Linked DNA regions of Homo sapiens: region 2 is linked to region 1. Evidence: promoter capture Hi-C in 16 types of primary human blood cells and fetal thymus (Javierre and others, 2016). All regions are on one chromosome and are shown on one strand. Each heading gives the region's core, a stretch centred on a gene start or on the middle of the fragment in contact. The rest is flanking DNA. Distances are from core to core; before and after follow the strand shown.

The links. Contacts are between HindIII fragments. The CHiCAGO score rates a contact against its expected background, and 5 or more counts as called.
Region 2: a fragment that was not itself captured here is called in contact with the fragment with the promoter of SLC66A2 in region 1 in 5 of 17 cell types (neutrophils, monocytes, M1 macrophages and 2 more); the score reaches 12.7 in neutrophils.

What each region holds. Positions count from the first base shown.
Region 1 is chr18:79,947,752-79,955,474 of GRCh38, reverse strand. SLC66A2 (solute carrier family 66 member 2) reads left to right here and starts at 3,822. Exons shown (of 6, transcript NM_025078.5): 1 at 3,822-3,894; 2 at 4,450-4,751. The coding sequence starts at 4,549. LOC124904336 (a long non-coding RNA gene) reads right to left here and starts at 2,666. Exons shown (of 2, transcript XR_007066429.1): 1 at 2,396-2,666; 2 at 1-2,199. RefSeq lists silencers at 3,291-3,340, 3,471-3,980, 4,301-4,380, 4,421-4,540. The HindIII fragment of the contact is 12,677 bases long and covers 1-7,723 here.
Region 2 is chr18:79,691,950-79,699,672 of GRCh38, reverse strand. It overlaps CTDP1 (CTD phosphatase subunit 1), which reads right to left. Exons shown (of 13, transcript NM_004715.5): 2 at 4,365-4,448; 3 at 3,603-3,696; 4 at 1,685-1,813. Among named protein-coding and RNA genes, the nearest start is that of CTDP1, 16 kb to the right of the region's middle. RefSeq lists enhancers at 869-1,368, 1,369-1,870. The HindIII fragment of the contact is 7,815 bases long and covers 745-7,723 here.

The DNA.
Region 1 (7,723 bases), core at 2,573-5,072:
CCCTGCCAAGCCCCACCTCCAAAACTGGTGATTATAACTCAACATGAGATTTGGTGGGGACACACACTCAAACTAGATCAGTTGATTTTTTTTTTTTTCATCACCTTTTCTCCTTGAATTTCAGTTTGGGAAGTTTCTGTTGACTTATCTTCATATTCACTGATTCTTTCCTTCATTCTGTCTAGTCAACTAATGAGCATTCTTTATTTCTATTGTGTTTTTGACTTCTAGCATTTTTTTTTTATTATTGTTTCCATCTTTCTGCTGATATCACCTATCTGGTCTTGCATGTTGTCTAATTTTTCTGCTAAAGCCAGTTTATCCAGGAGTTTCTGCTCTGGGTGAGCAGCTCTCAGGTGCTGTCTCTCCCTGGATGTGCCTGTCTCTTCAGAGCAGGGTGCCAGTTTGTCTGGCAGCCTTAGTTCTCTGATGGGCCCATGAAAGGCTGCCCTGCTATTCTTTGCTGTAAGGATGGGGGTGGTGACTGCCAAGCACGTCACATGACACCAGTTGAAGTTGCGGAACTTCTGAGCCAGGCTCCTAAAGTGAGACTTCCAATCCACCTTCCGTACAGGTTTCCTTAAAAAATGGGGTGCGCGACCAGCAAGGTGGCTCACTCCTGTAATCCCAGCACTTTGGGAGGCCTAGGTGAGAGGATCCTTTGAAGCCAGGAGTTCAAAGACCAAACTGGCCAACATAGTGAGCTCCCCGTCTCTATAAAATAAATAAATAAAATAAAAAGAAATAGGCTGAGTGAGAAACAGTGGCTCCAATCTTCCTCTGATGTCCCAGCTCTCAGAACAAGGTTGCTTTGTTTGCTTTTCCTTTTATAAGCACCATGTGTTAGGCAAATTCTTAAGTGGTTCCCTGAGGTATTCATGCTCCTACGTGACACCTTAATCTGCACCGGGCCAACCCAGTGACCTGTTTCTCATGAGCAGAGCCTGGAAAGCATGAGGCACAGCTCTGCTTCCTCTGTGTCACAGCTCTGATCTTGTCAGTCACTCATTGGCTCCTGCAACAAATGACCACAGCTAAGTGGCTTTTACAACAGCAGAAGTTTATTCCTTCACAGCTCTGGAGGCCAAAAGTCCAAAATCACTTTTAATGTGCTGAAATCAAGGCATTGGCAGGGCCAGGCTCCCTCGCATGGCTCCTGGGGAGAATCTGCTCCTTGTTTCTGGGGCCTCTGGTGGCTCCGGCGTTACTTGGCTTGGGACTGCATCACGTCAATTTTCAAGGCCCCATCTTCATCTCTGCTCCATCTTCCCATGGCCCTCTCTTCTGTGTGGCACCAAATTTCCTTCTGCCTCCCTCTTACAAAGATGCATGTGGCCGGGCACGCTGGCTCATGCCTGTCATCCCAGCACTTTGAGAGGCCAAGGCAGGAGGATCGCTTGAGGCCAGGAGTTCAAGACCAGCCTGGCCAACACAGAGACCCTGTCTCTGTTGTATGTATTTATTTTTGAGATAGGGTCTCACTTTGTCACCGAGGCTAGAGTGCAGTGGTGCGATCCTGGCTCACTGCTGCCTCAACCTCCTGGCCTCAAGCAATCCTTCCACCTCAGGAGTAGCTGGGACTACAGGTGCACACTACCATGCCCAGATAATTTTTCTATCTTTTGTAGAGACGAGGTCTCACCATGTTGCTCAGGCTGGTCTCGAACTCCTGGGCTCAAGAGATTTACCTGCCTCAGGCTCCCAAAGTGCTGGGATTATAGGCGTGAGCCACAGTGTTTAGGGCCCACCTGGATAATCCAGGACAATCTCTCTATCTCAAGATCCTTAATGACATTAGAAAAAAAAATTGTTTTCCCATACGAGGTAATATTTACAGGTTGCCTGGATTAGGACTTGATGGCTTTATAAGGGCCATTTTCCAGCTGTGCATGGCTTGGTCGGCTTCTCTTGTTTGCAGGAAGCTATGTGACAAGCGCAGCACCTGCAATGAGCTGTGATTGGCTGATGTAGACTGGGGGTGGGGGCTCGGACCCCCGGCAGGTGGTGTTCGAAAAGGTACAAACTCACTCTGCAGTCATCAACTCACCTTTCGGGGTGCCTCTGAGGCGTGAGGCCTGTGGGGTGACGTCCGAGCATGCCAGATTTCGTCCACTGAGCCGGGCTCCTGGAGGCCCCGTGCACAGATGCAGCTCTAGGCCCCAGGCTGCGGGCACAATTTGCCCCATGCCTCCACAGCCTCTGGATTTAAGATAACCGAGGATAGCGTCTGGGACCCCAGTGCTCCCGTGAGGGTCAAGGAGGTCCGGAGCTTACTCCAACCTCCAGGGCAGAGAGGACAGATGATCCCAAAGGCTGCTGGGCTCAGGCTAGGGCGCGGCTGAGCAGGGGCAGCTGCTTTTTCTCTCCCAGGCTTCCTGCTGTGCCTTTTACTCACCTCTACGTTCCTGGTGCTGGGGCTCCGCAGCGCTGGCTCTAAAGAAGTTCCAACGCCAGCCTGGGGGCGCAAGGCAGGAGCGCCCTGTTTCCTCGATTGTTGGGGATTTGCTCCTAGTTAGGTGGTGACTGTCCTTATGATCCCCCATAAAACCAGTCGGGCAGGGGGCAGGGGGCAGGGGGCCGGGATCGTGGAGAAGAGGCCGCGGCTGGCGGGGAAGCAACCCTCAGCGTGGACCCCTCAACCTCGCGGCTCGCCCCTTACCCGTGCACCCCTCGCCTCACACCCCCGCGCCCCTCACCCACGCGTCCCTCACCCTACACACACCCGCCCATCACTCGCGCACCCTTCACCCCTCACCCACGCTCCCCTCACCCTTCACCGGCGCGCCCCTCACCCCTCACCCCTCACCCAGGCGCCCCTCACCCTTCACTCGCGCATCACTCACCCCTCACCCCTCACCCACGCTCCCCTCACCCCTCACCCCTCACCCGCGCTCCCCTCACCCCTCACCCGCGCGCCCCTCACCCCTCACCCGCGCTCCCCTCACACTTCACCCGCGCTCCCCTCACTCTTCACCCGCGCGCCCCTCATCCACGCGCCCCTCGCCCTCAGTCCTCACCCGCGCGGGCCAAGAGGGTCCCGGGCGAGGGCAGCTCCCCGCGGGCGGGTGTGGGGCTCGGAGTTGGCTTGGCACGCGAGGCCGGCAGCAGGGCCCGGGCTTCACGCACGCCTGGCCCCCGAGTCTGTCTTGAGGCTCAGGAGCTGCCTTTTCTGCAAATAGGCGCCCAACGGTTCAGCCCGGAGAACTACACGGGGATGGGGAGAGGCCGCCCCGCGTTTCTGCAGCGACAGCGACCGTGGCCGCAACCACGATAATGACAATGGCCACGGTGACGGCCGCGCGTCCAGCCGGCCCCCCGGCGACGGCCCCGGCGCATCTGCTCGTGGGGCACTTGCATCGGAGCGGAGACCCGCGGGGGGCGCTCCGTTTCCCGAGACCCCGGCCGCCTCTGGGCGCTGCAAACTCCGAGCCGGGTCCCCGGGTCTCCTGGGTCAGGACAGAGCTGGACGAGACTCGTCCCCGGGTGGCCCGCATTCAGGACACGCGTGAGAGGGGCGTCCGGACCCCGCGCCCCCGGCCCTCCAGGACGACGCCCTCCGCTTGGATGGCCGCGCGCCGGGACAGCTGGAGACGGGTTAACGTGGGCGCCAGGCCTGAGGGACCGGCCCCGCCCGGCTGGTATTTCCCGACCGGGCGGGAGGAGCCACGCGCCCCCACCGCCCCGACAGCCCCGGCTCCCGGCCCCGCCTGCGCCCGCCCTGCCCAGCGCGCTCTAGGACACCGCGGCGCCTCCGCGCAGCTCCGGCGTGGGCGGGGCCCGGCATTGTGACGTCACGGGGCGGGGTTTCCCGGCGCCTGAGCGGACTGACGCCGAGACGCGCGCGGGTCAGCGGCGCGGGGACGCGGGGCGCTGGGCGCGGGGCTGGGGGCGCAGGTAAGGAGCGCGGGGGCGGCGCGGGGTCCTCGGGGGGCGGCCTAGGGCGGCCGAGGACGCAGGGCCGGGGCAGTTGGTCGCGGCCTTCAGTCCCCTGGCTTGGTCCTGTGGGGTCCCCGGCCCGGCACCTCCTCCCGCGAGCCGTGCGCCCCCATCCTGGGCCTGCGCCCCCTTCCCCCGAGCCGTGCGCCCCCATGCTAGGCCCTGTGACCCTCCCCCGAACAGTGCGCCCCGATCCTGGGCCCTGCGCCCCCTCCCCCACCCCATCCCGGGGCGCGCGTGGACCCCCGCCGGCTAAGCGCACCCGGGCGGTGACCCCAGGGGCTTCGCCCGTCCTCGACCCCGGCGCTGGGACCCCTCCCCAGCCCCCTCCGGGAGCGTCTCGGGACCCCCAGACACCCCCCCGTCCCAGGCAGGGGCCGCTCCTCGCGCGCCCCGGGCCCCGGTCGCCCCCGCTCTGCCTCGGGTCCTGCGGCTGGCGCGGGTCGGGTCGGGTCCGTGCGCGCCGCCCCAGCCTCCCTGGGCGGAACTCGAGCAGCTCCCCGCTCCCCGCAGGCCCCGAGGCCGCAGGAGCGCGCGGAGCGGCGATGAGCAGGCGGCCGGTGGCCCGCGGGGCGCGGAGCCCGTGACAGCCTCGGCCAGGCGGGCGCTGCGATGGAGGCCGAGGGCCTGGACTGGCTCCTGGTGCCACTGCACCAGCTGGTGTCCTGGGGCGCGGCCGCGGCCATGGTCTTCGGAGGGGTGGTGCCCTACGTCCCGCAGTATCGGGACATTCGCAGGACGCAGAACGCCGACGGCTTCTCCACCTACGTGTGCCTGGTGCTGCTGGTGGCCAACATTTTGCGGATACTCTTCTGGTAAGTTGGGGGCTTGCTTTCCTGGGCTGCACCCGGAGAAGAGGGTTTCTCCTTTGGGGTTTCTGGTTGAGGCCGGGGGAGCAGCAGGGTCCACACCTCCCTGCTGGGCCAGCGTCCCACTCTGCCGTGGATGGGGTACGTGGCTGCAGGCAAGTCACTTCTTAGGGTGAGATTATTTTTCCAGAAAAACGGTGGGGTTGGAGCACAGAATCTCAGAGAAAATCTCCAGATCCGCCTCCTTGCATGATGTTCCACATGGGTACTTAGCAGGGACCTCTCAGCTGGGCACTGGCCTAGGCCTGCCTGTGGAGAGGAGCCGTTCCTGCCCTCCTTTTTCATGTTGTATAGTTTTTCTTTGTTGTTTTGAGAGAGGGTCTTGCTCTGTGGTCCAGGCTGAAGTGCATGATGACATGACAGCTCACCGCAGTCTCCACGTTCCTGGGCTCAGGTGATCCTCCCATCTCAGCCTCCCGAGTAGCTGGGACCACAGGCGCACCACCACACCCGGCTAATTGTTTTTTTTGTATTTTTTGTAGAGACAGGGGAGTGGGGGGTTGTCTCACTTTGTTGCCCAGGCTGGTCTCGAACTCCTGGCCTCAAGCATCCCTCCCCACTGGGCCTCTGAAAGGGCTGGGATTACAAGCTGAGCCACGGCGCCTGGCCTGCCTTATTTAAATAGGAAGTCACTCTCTCTGGAGACTGTCTTGTTCCTCTCCCCAACTTCCTCTTTGTATTTGTATTAGGCTAAGGAAATTGAAATTAATTTTAACAGTTGTTGAAGGCAGACATAATTGGGAGGGTGAGTTTTCAGAGGAAATGAGGTCTCACAGCTGCATTCTAAGGCCAAAAACGTCTGAAATTTTTCTTTCTTCTGGGTGATCCCAGCCTCTCTGTCCGGGCAGATTGGAAGGTGTCTGCTGCTCTTCCTATGAAGAGGGCCTGGTGGAGGGGTGGAGAGAAGGAGTCCAGGCAGCTGGTGTCAAGAACTCTGCTTCTGACTCTGGTCACTGAGTAATCACGTACCTGCTTCTTTGCCTGTTAGTTTTGTTTTGTTTTTTTTTGAGACAGAGTCTTGCTCTGTCGCCAGGCTGGAGTGCAGTGGTACAATCTCGGCTCACTGCAGCCTCTGACTCCTGGGTTCAAGTGATTCTCCTGCCTCAGCCTCCTGAGTAGCTGGGACTACAGGTGCCTGCCACCATACCCAGGTAATTTTTGTATTTTTAGTAGAGACCAGGTTTCACCATGTTGACCAGGATGGTCTCGATCCCTTGACCTCATGATCCACCCACCTTGACCTCCCAAAGTGTTGGGATTACAGGCGTGAGCCACCGCGCCTGGCCCGCCTGTTAGTTTTTAAGTCAACCTTATTGAGGTGTGATTTGCATTCCATGAAATACACCCCTTTCGTGTCCATTTGATGAGTTCTGATGCTGAGGTGTCCCGTGTTCATGAGCCGGGGTGCTCCCTGCTCCGTGGCCTTCATCCCAGCCCTGGCCATGGGCAGCCATTGGTCCATGTGTCCCTGGGTGTTAGTTTTGCCCCTGCCAGGGATTTTTAGGTGAGCGAGTGGGTTGGCTGCCTCTTCCCCAGAGTTGTCTCTGAGGCAGGGAGGTTTGTCCCCTGCAACGACCTCGGAGGAGGATTTTGGGTCCGAGTCCCGTCTCGAGGTTTGTCTCTGGGCCAGGCTGCATCTGAGGGAGGTTCAGGGGTGCTCATTTTGGAGACTCCTTCTTTCTTTCCCATCGCCTGCTTTGGAGACGTGGCTGGCGGTGCTGCAGTGGCCTCAGTGAGCGTAAGGTTGACTGGAAGTAGGTTTCTAATTGTCTAATGCTGTTGTTTACTTTGAGTGCATGTTGTGGGGGTTGGGGAGACGCTGGTCGGCAGGCCACCTGCTACAGCCCCAGCTCACGTGTGTGTTGTGAAGGAGCGCTGCACTCGTCTTCAGGGTTATAGAATAAATTCTCTCCAAAATAATGGAGGAAAATTGCCTGAGAGTGGATAACCATACGGGAAAGAAGTTCCGCTTAGAGGTTTCCCTCCCCAGTATGCTCATAGTTCAAAGTTGCTAAAAGAAAATAAATTAGGTTGGGCACGGTGGCCCGCTCCTGTAATTCCAGCACTTTTGGAGGCCGGGGTGGGAGGATCACTTGAGGCCAGGAGTTCAAGACCAACCAACGCAACACAGCAAGACACCGTCTCTACAAAAAATTGAAACATTAGCTTAGGTGTGGGGGCATTACCTGTAGTCCTAGCTACTTGCGAGGCTGTGAAAGGAGGATCACTTAAGCCCAGGAATTCGAGGCTGCAGTGAGCTGTCCTCCAGTCTGGCCAACAGAGAGAGACCCTGTCTCAAAAAAAGAAAGAAAAGAATCTATCTAATGTCCATCTAAGTATCGGTTTGGAGAAGTCAGAGATTAACCCAGTTTCCTGGTGCCATCTTGTCATTGCCTCATGACCTAACTGGCACTGACGTAGAGGTTTGAAGCTGGAACTGGGAGTTCTTGCTTACAGGCCTTGGAGAGACACTTGAGCTCTTTCTTTGTGGAGCACAGGGCAGCCTTCCAGGGAATTCTGAACTTTGTCCATGGGTCTCTTCATAGAATCAACATCCTGGGCTGTCCTGGTCATGCATGGCTTCTGTGACCACTGAGTGCACACGCAGGGCCCCAGTGTGTTCCAGAAGATGGTGGGATGAAAGCGGGGAGAGCAGAGGGCGCTCGTTCCTGCTGGGCGTCCCTCCAGCCTGAGGATGCGCCATCCCTGCACTCCACACAGCGAAGCCCACCTCCCTACCTACCACACATCCTCTTGTGCCCACCCGGTCCCCAGGTCCTGCTGTGCAGAGGGGGATGATGACCCCTTCTGTTTCTCTCTTGGGAGCCTCTTGTGACCCCCCACTCCTGGCTTCCCCTCTCCAGGCTTTGTAGGTTCACAGCCTCTTTGATTTCATGGTTTGTAGGGCAGAGGATTTG
Region 2 (7,723 bases), core at 3,403-5,902, 260 kb after region 1:
AGCCACAGCAACTCATGAAGGTATATGTGTGCAGAATGTATTTTCATAAAGTCCTTACATCCTTCAAAATACCTAGTTTGTCAGAAAATAGGCATTAAAAAAAAAACCTTGGGCGGGCGCGGTGGCTCATGCCTGTAATCCCAGCACTTTGGGAGGCCGAGGCAGGCGGATCACAAAGTCAGGAGATTGAGACCATCCTGGCTAACACGGTGAAACCCCGTCTCTACTAAAAAAAATACAAAAAATTAGCCAGGTGTGGTGGCGGGCACCTGTAGTCCCAGCTACTTGGGAGTCTGAGGGAGGAGAATGGCGTGAACTCGGGAGGTAGAGCTTGCAGTGAGCCAAGATCCTGCCACTGCACTCCAGCCTGGGTGACAGAGTGAGGCTCTGTCTCAAAAACAAACAAACAAAAAACCTTAGTGAGTAGAGTAGCGGGTATGAACGAAGCAATCTGAAAATATCTAGTCACAGTTTATACTGCACAGAAGAATAGACTGCTGTGTAAGATGCCACGAGACACACAAATGACTAACACAGCCAGAAATAGAAGCTGTTTTGTGGGTTAGACCTGAATTCCGGCCCTAAACAAACTCCTGTGCAGCACGGCAGTTACTCGATTCTCTCCATTCTGCAAACAGCATAAAACGCGAGAGTTTGTGCCACCTGGGGGGTCTGTGCAGCTCACCCTGACCACCTGACTGACTTACAAGGCCAAACTTAACCAAACTTCTTCCAGATGAAGCTTGTCACAAATTTGACTTATGTGTAACTGTCATCAATCTGTCCCAGCTGTTGGTACCACGCCCCGGCATTCAGCAGCGGAGGATGCCCGGCTCCGTGGTGCATCCTCCAGCCTGCTGGGTGTCTGCTATTGGGACCTGCAGGATCCCCAGGAACCTTTAGAACTGGTAAGGTCAGAACTGATGGGCCTCTGAAATCCCAAATCTAACGCCAGAGTCCACATACTGTTCAATAGCAAACACTTAAAAAACAACTCAGTGTTGGTGAGGGCCTCCCTGATGGCCACCGTCTAGGCCGACACAAGCCTCTGCGCAAGCCTCTGGGCACAGACATTCAAAGCCTTCGGTCTAGAAATTCAGCTTCTCTGGTTCCATCCTGAGGACACAGCTGAGGCACAGGAAGGGTTTCGTGTGCATTAAACAGGGTTCTGCCCTCACCCTGCATTTCCCCGTGTTTCCCCTGGAGAATGTACGCTGGTCACCTCCCACCCAGGCTTTTCCTCCAGCCCAGTTCTCCCAAGCACAAACCCAGGCGTCCACCTGCCCTTGACATCCTAGCAACATAAAGGCATCCAACACCAACGTCCTCCCCACCAAGACTGCCCCTCTCAGGACACGCCTCGCACCATCCACCACACCATCCTCACAGGCTCGGGACGTTTCTGCCTTCTCCGACATCGTGCCGGGCAGGCACACAAAGGGTTCCCACACACACGGAAGGAAGCGTGAGACACAGTGGGCGTCGGGATGTCTGCCCGGGAGCCGCGGATGCTCCCCAACAGCCCAGCAGACACACGGCCCACGCCCAGAACTAGCAAGTCTGCTTTCCAAACCCAGGCTGACCTACGGGAAATCATCTAAAAAACAAGAGAACACACTTCTGAATCAAAATTCTAGGACCCGCGGTTCCTGGGAAACTGTCCGTAGATGCTGACTGCACTCACTTTATTCGACATCTGCTGACAGTGCTGCTCGGTTGTGTGAATCAACGTCTGGTCCAAGTCCACCATGAGCACCAGCTTCCGGTTTCGGTGCAGTCGCTGCTGGTCTTCTCTTCCCAGCTGTTCAGCTTGCTACAATTAAAAAGAAACAAGAAATGACAAAGTCAGTATGTTTGCATCCAAGGTAAAACTCCATTTCATCGAGAAACACAAAACTATATCAATGTGTTCCCCTCCAGCCCCCCACGCTCCATGGACTGCGCCGTACAGGCCGAGAGGCAGGGCTGGGTCACCAACCTGGTCACGGCAACCTCGCTTGTGACCACAATTTTATAATTCAGTTAAATACATGAGCCAATGAAAACGGAGGGGGAAGGGAAACTGGTTGTTTCTATAAAAGCTGGATTCAACAGTATGGAGTGCTCAATAAAAGTGAACTGCAAAATTAATGAAGAAACCAAGTCGGCCGGCTGGGAGACGCTGGGTGGCCCAAGCTGGGCAGCAGAGACTGGTAAGGGCAATGCGCTCAGAATCTCCCGCGCTCAGAACCTTCCACGCTCAGCCTATTCTTGTGCCTCGAAGAGACCCGGGGGCCTGGCAACAGCGCATCGGGGTGTCCCTCCACGCGGGGCCCAGAGTGGAGCTCCTAACAAGGGCCCGGTCACCCCGGCATCAGGAGCCCGGCATGGGACACGGGATGTGACGCACCACGCTGCCTTTCTCACTGTAACTGGCCCTCACTCTTCACAACAAAATCCTGGTCCCGCTCAGGGGGGACCTCCTCCCGTGCCCATCCCCGAAGGGAAACGCACGGAAGGGCTGGCAGGTGCCAGAAAGATGGGGGGTACTTCCTCCTCCCTTCACCCTCAAACTTGCCAGCTTTGGTTTACGCATACACATTTTACATTTGTTTAAAGTTTGGTAATTCAGAAAACCCAGAATCCTGTATCTGGCATTTTGCTTTTCCCATAAAAAGATAGACTGAAATTGGTGTCCATCATTTAAAAGCACGAATTTACTAAAATCGTAACACTGGAAAGTGTTTTACCTATTTACAAAACTGTGCAGCCCTGAAAGTCTGTAAGATCACAAACTAGTTTTTCTCAGCTCCCAGAGCATTTTCACCCACGGGGTGAAGCGAGGTCGGGGAGACGGTGTCTGCCTCAAGCACAGGAGGTGCCCGGAGCCGCTGACCCACAGTGCCCCAGCAACTCCTGAAATACATAAACGAGGCGTAGCACTCGAAGATAAAAACCCATCTCACTCTTAACTGGGCACGTGAACACCTGCCCGTCCTCTCCACCCTGCGTACCCCCCATGGGCTCTCCTGTCGGCTACAAGGCAAACACTCCTGGGACCCCCAACCCGCCCCTGCATGTGCCCACTCTCCCGAGCCAGCTTCCCAATGGTGCCAGCAGCAGCCGCTCCTGTAGCCAACAAGGTGCTACCAACCACGTCCCCCCGCCCCTACCCCCGGCCACCGACTCCTCGCCATTATCTGCCCCAATATGCGCTTTGCCCTCCCGGGTCATCCAGCACATGCCTCGGCAGCGCGGCCACCTCCTGAGCTCCATGAGCAGCTGTCACATCCCTCCCCAGTTAGGACTTGGCTCAAGGGAACCCAGGCTGAGCCTGGCTGTTCACAGCTGCGGCGGCAGCACCTGGTGTTCCCGACACGCAGGTCACACAGCCTCGGGGCCCTGAGTCGCTTTTGCAGGCAGACTTGTCTGTGGAGAACCAAGGGCAACCGTCCCTGCTTCAGGAAGGCCGCAGTCCCATAAGTCATCCGTGTGATGAGGGGTTGTTTCAGTAACGACGATGACAACCACACGTCCGTGCTTCTGCAGCCACCCTCCTCCTGCAGCCGCCCTCCTCAGAGCACCACGCTTCCCCAACACGCCGCCACTGATGCCCGGCTCACCTCGGAGCTCACCATCAACTCCGGCACGCTGTGCACCATGGACACGGTCGCCGTGGACAGCGGCACCTGCTGCTTCCCGTTCTTACTCTGCAACCTGCAAGTGCAAGGACAGGTTCAGGGCTTTCAGCTGAGTCTCTGCGCACAGATGCACACTGGGCTCTAAGTGACAGGATTCTAGCTGATGTTTTAACGGACACACGCTGCTATCTTAGCACAGACTTGATTCTGTCGGCAAACGTGGAAACATTCTCCACAGACAGGAAAACTGGTGGAAACACTGAGCTCGTGGCCACACTCATGAACACACAGAGCCATAGTCCTTCATGAAAACAAACTGCAAAGTCACACAGAAGCAGAAACAGGCCCTCAACCATGAAAACGCAGAAAAAGTAGCTGCCGCACCTCCCACTTGGCATTAGAGGTAAAGCAGCCCCCAGCATGGGGCGCTCAGCGGCCCAGAGGGAGGGGCTGCTCCAGGCACTCAGCGATCTGCGTCTTCAGTCAGGAGAAAACAGGTCTCGGCCCTCCAGCATGCCCCCCCACCACACCTGAGAATGGCATGAGGCTGGGGTCACAGAGCAGGAAGGACTGCCTCCAGGGAAACCCATTGAGTGTGACTCGTATGGGGCCCAAGGGAGGCGTCTGCATCTGCCGCTGGGAAACCAAGGGCCTCACTGTGTTCCCAGCACAGCTTCTCGGACTCCCCGGAGGCCACCACCTCGAGCCCCAGCAGGCAGCGATCTCACTCTTCCGGATACTTACTGGGTGAGGTCTTGGCCACATTCAGCACACAGGCCTTTCATGACAACCGGGTGGCTGCATCCTTCCAACCTCACCAGAACCGCTCTACAAAAAAACACAAGGGGAACAACACTTTAAAATCTCTTGGTTTATCAAAAGAGCCCCCAAGTAAGAATTTTAAAATCTAGGTTTTTGTACCAATTCTACACTAACCCTTGCATAACTTTGTAGGCAGGTGACATCACCCCTTGAGGGCATTTCTTTGTCTATAAAATGAAAGGACTTTCCACCTACAGGTGTCTCTCATGAAAAATGACACGCCACCACACCTCACCACCCCCGTGCCACCCGTGGAACAGCTGAAAAAACTAAGGATGTCTGGTCCAAAGAGGAGACTTGGGGATAACATAAAGTTGTCTCAAAACACACTATTTATATGTGATCCTCTGACATTTCCGTTAGAGAATTTATAAAATCTAAAACTTTCATATCATTCCCAGTCTAGACAGAGGCTGATGCAACTACATTTTCCTGACAAAATGACTGTAATGTTCGTTTTATATAAACACAAACTGTTTTATTTGTCCAAACAGTGGTCTTCTGGCAGAAGCCATGGAAGAAGTGCTGAAATCTGAAGGCTATGAGACCAGAGGCCGCCTGGCACTCAGCGCCCGCCCCTAGGTGCCCTCAGCCCCCACACTCCCACCCCAGCCGGGCTGCTCCGACCGCCCCACCCTGCGAACATGAGACCACCCAGCACTCAGCGCCTGACCCTAGGTGTCCGCAGCCCCCACACTCCCACCCCAGCCGGGCTGCTCCGACCACCCCACCCCGTGGACATGAGACCGCCCAGCACTCAGCGCCCACCCCTAGGTGCCTGTAGCCCCCACACTCCCATCCCAGCCGGGCTGCTCCGACCACCGCGCCCCGCGGACACGAGGCTGCCCGGCACTCAGTGTCCCTAGGAGCTCGCAACCCCCACACTCCCGTCCCAGCTGGGCTGCTCCGACCACCCCACCCCGTGGACATGAGACCGCCCAGCACTCAGCGCCCACCCCTAGGTGCCTGTAGCCCCCACACTCCCATCCCAGCCGGGCTGCTCCGACCACCCTGCCCTGCAGACATGAGGCCGCCCAGCACTCAGCACCCGCCCCTAGGTGCTCACAGCCCCCACACTCCCGTCCCAGCCGGGCTGCTCCGACCACCCTGACCCGCGGACATGAGACAGCCACCCAAGCTGCATCTGTCAATGGGACCTTTCCAGGCGGGATGCCCCATGGCCCACCAAGACCCCCAGCCATGTCATCGAGAGGGCGCAAGGATCAGGCCACAGGCGGAAACAAGGCGGAGCCACATCCTCCATGCCCACTGTGCCATGGCAGGCTGTGCTGGGAGACTGGGAGGGGCGGGTCTGCAGCCTGCATCCTGCAGGGGAGCGGAGGGGCGGGTCTGTAGCCTGCATCCTTCAGGGAGACTCGGAGGGGCGGGTCTGTAGCCAGCATCCTGCAGGGAGAATGGGAGGGGCGGGTCTGTAGCCTGGAGGGGAGTGGAGGGGAGTTCTTCCTGGGGAGGAGGATGGGCGTGTGCGGATCACCCTGGAGGAGGAACGGTGCTGAGGACACACGGTGCGGGGCTCCGAGCCCTCGGGGATGGAGTGGGCTGCCGGTGACTATCAAGAATCTGAGCTCCTCCGGGTCCTGGGCCTGTGCGTACACAGTGCATGTGCAACACAAATGGATTCCGCGTTTACTCACGTCCCATCCCCAAGACATCTCGTCATGTATACGTGCAAATATTCCAAAATCCAAAAAAACCCAGAAATCCAAAACACTTCTGTTTCCAAGCAGTTTGGATATGGGAGACTCAACCTGTATCAGGTTTTTTTCTTAAACCAGACAACAAAATAGTGACACCTTGTTTGAAAAAGTGTGTTAAACTTTCTAAGGTGACAAGTATGATTTCCTTAATTTTATCAAAATACTTTACAATGAATGATTAGAGTTCTGCCCTAAAATGCCCCAATGAGCAGAGACTTAACCTAAAAACCCAATCTCTGAAAAAAAACAAAAACAAAAACAAAAAAAACGCACAAACCCCACACTGGACCATCCTCCCTCCCGGTCACCACACCTGCTCAAAGACACTGCCAGGCTTCACAGGCCTCAGGGACACCTGCTCCCTGCTTGCTGAGGCCACAGGGGCCATCCCCGCCCAGGAGTCTGTGTCCCTACCGCCATCGCACTCGGGGCCTCCACATCCAGGCTCCTCTCCGATGCCTGGCAGCCCCCAACTCCCCGGCTGAGCTGTTTTCGTCCATCCACAGGGCTCTGCGGCCCCACCGCCAACACCCAAACCCAGTCCTCCCAATGGCCCCACGTCCTTTCCCTGGGCACTGCTCCCCCAGTCCTGGCAGCAACCCCACTTGGGAGCCCCAGCCCCTCTAACAGGCTTCCCTGGTCTCCAGCTGACATCATTTTGCAATCAGCCTTCTGCAAGGAAACTCTGCACAGCTCCTGCCCCACACAGGACACCAGCTCATGGCAGGCTCCTCATTCTACCCCCTGCCCCACACAGGACACCAGCTCACGGCGGGTTCCTTGCTCTACCCTCTGCCCCACGCAGGACACCAGCTCACGGCGGGCTCCTCGCTCTACCCCCTGCCCCATGCAAGACACCAGCTCACCGCGGGCTCCTCCTTGCTCTACCCCCTGCAAGGGGAAGAGAGGGAAAGGAATCCTCAAATATGAACTAGGAGGATTTTGCCAATCTCTCCTAAACATGTTAACATGAAGAAGGATCTGGGGTGGCTCTAGTTTAACCAATAAACAGGTGTTTTTTTGTAGAAATTGACAAGTTGCTTCTGAAATTTATATGGAAGTTCAGAAAACCTAGAATCTCAATTTTCAAAAATAACAGAGAACTTTTACTACCTGACTTCAGAACTTATCAGGCATACAACATAAACGCATGGAACAGAGGAGTCCAGAAAGACTCAAAGGTATGACCGACAGACGACCCACCAAGGTGCCCAGAAAACTCCATGGCGGGCGGGGGGCACCTTCCAGCCAGTGGGGCTTCACACAAATGGATCAACGGCTGACAAACGCCTGCAGAGTGTGTTCTGCAAAGGTTTTCTCCACTGTTCCCCACCCGGAGTCCACCCTGGGAGCCGTCCACTCCTCCCCACCCCGAGTCCACCCTGGGAGCCGTCCACTCTTCTCCCACCCCGAGTCCACCCTGGGAGCCGTCCACTCCTCCCCACCCCGAGTCCACCCTGGGAGCCGTCCACTCCTCCCCACCCCGAGTCCACCCTGGGAGCCGTCCACTCCTCCCCCACCCCGAGTCCACCCTGGGAGCCGTCCACTCCTCCCCCACCCCGA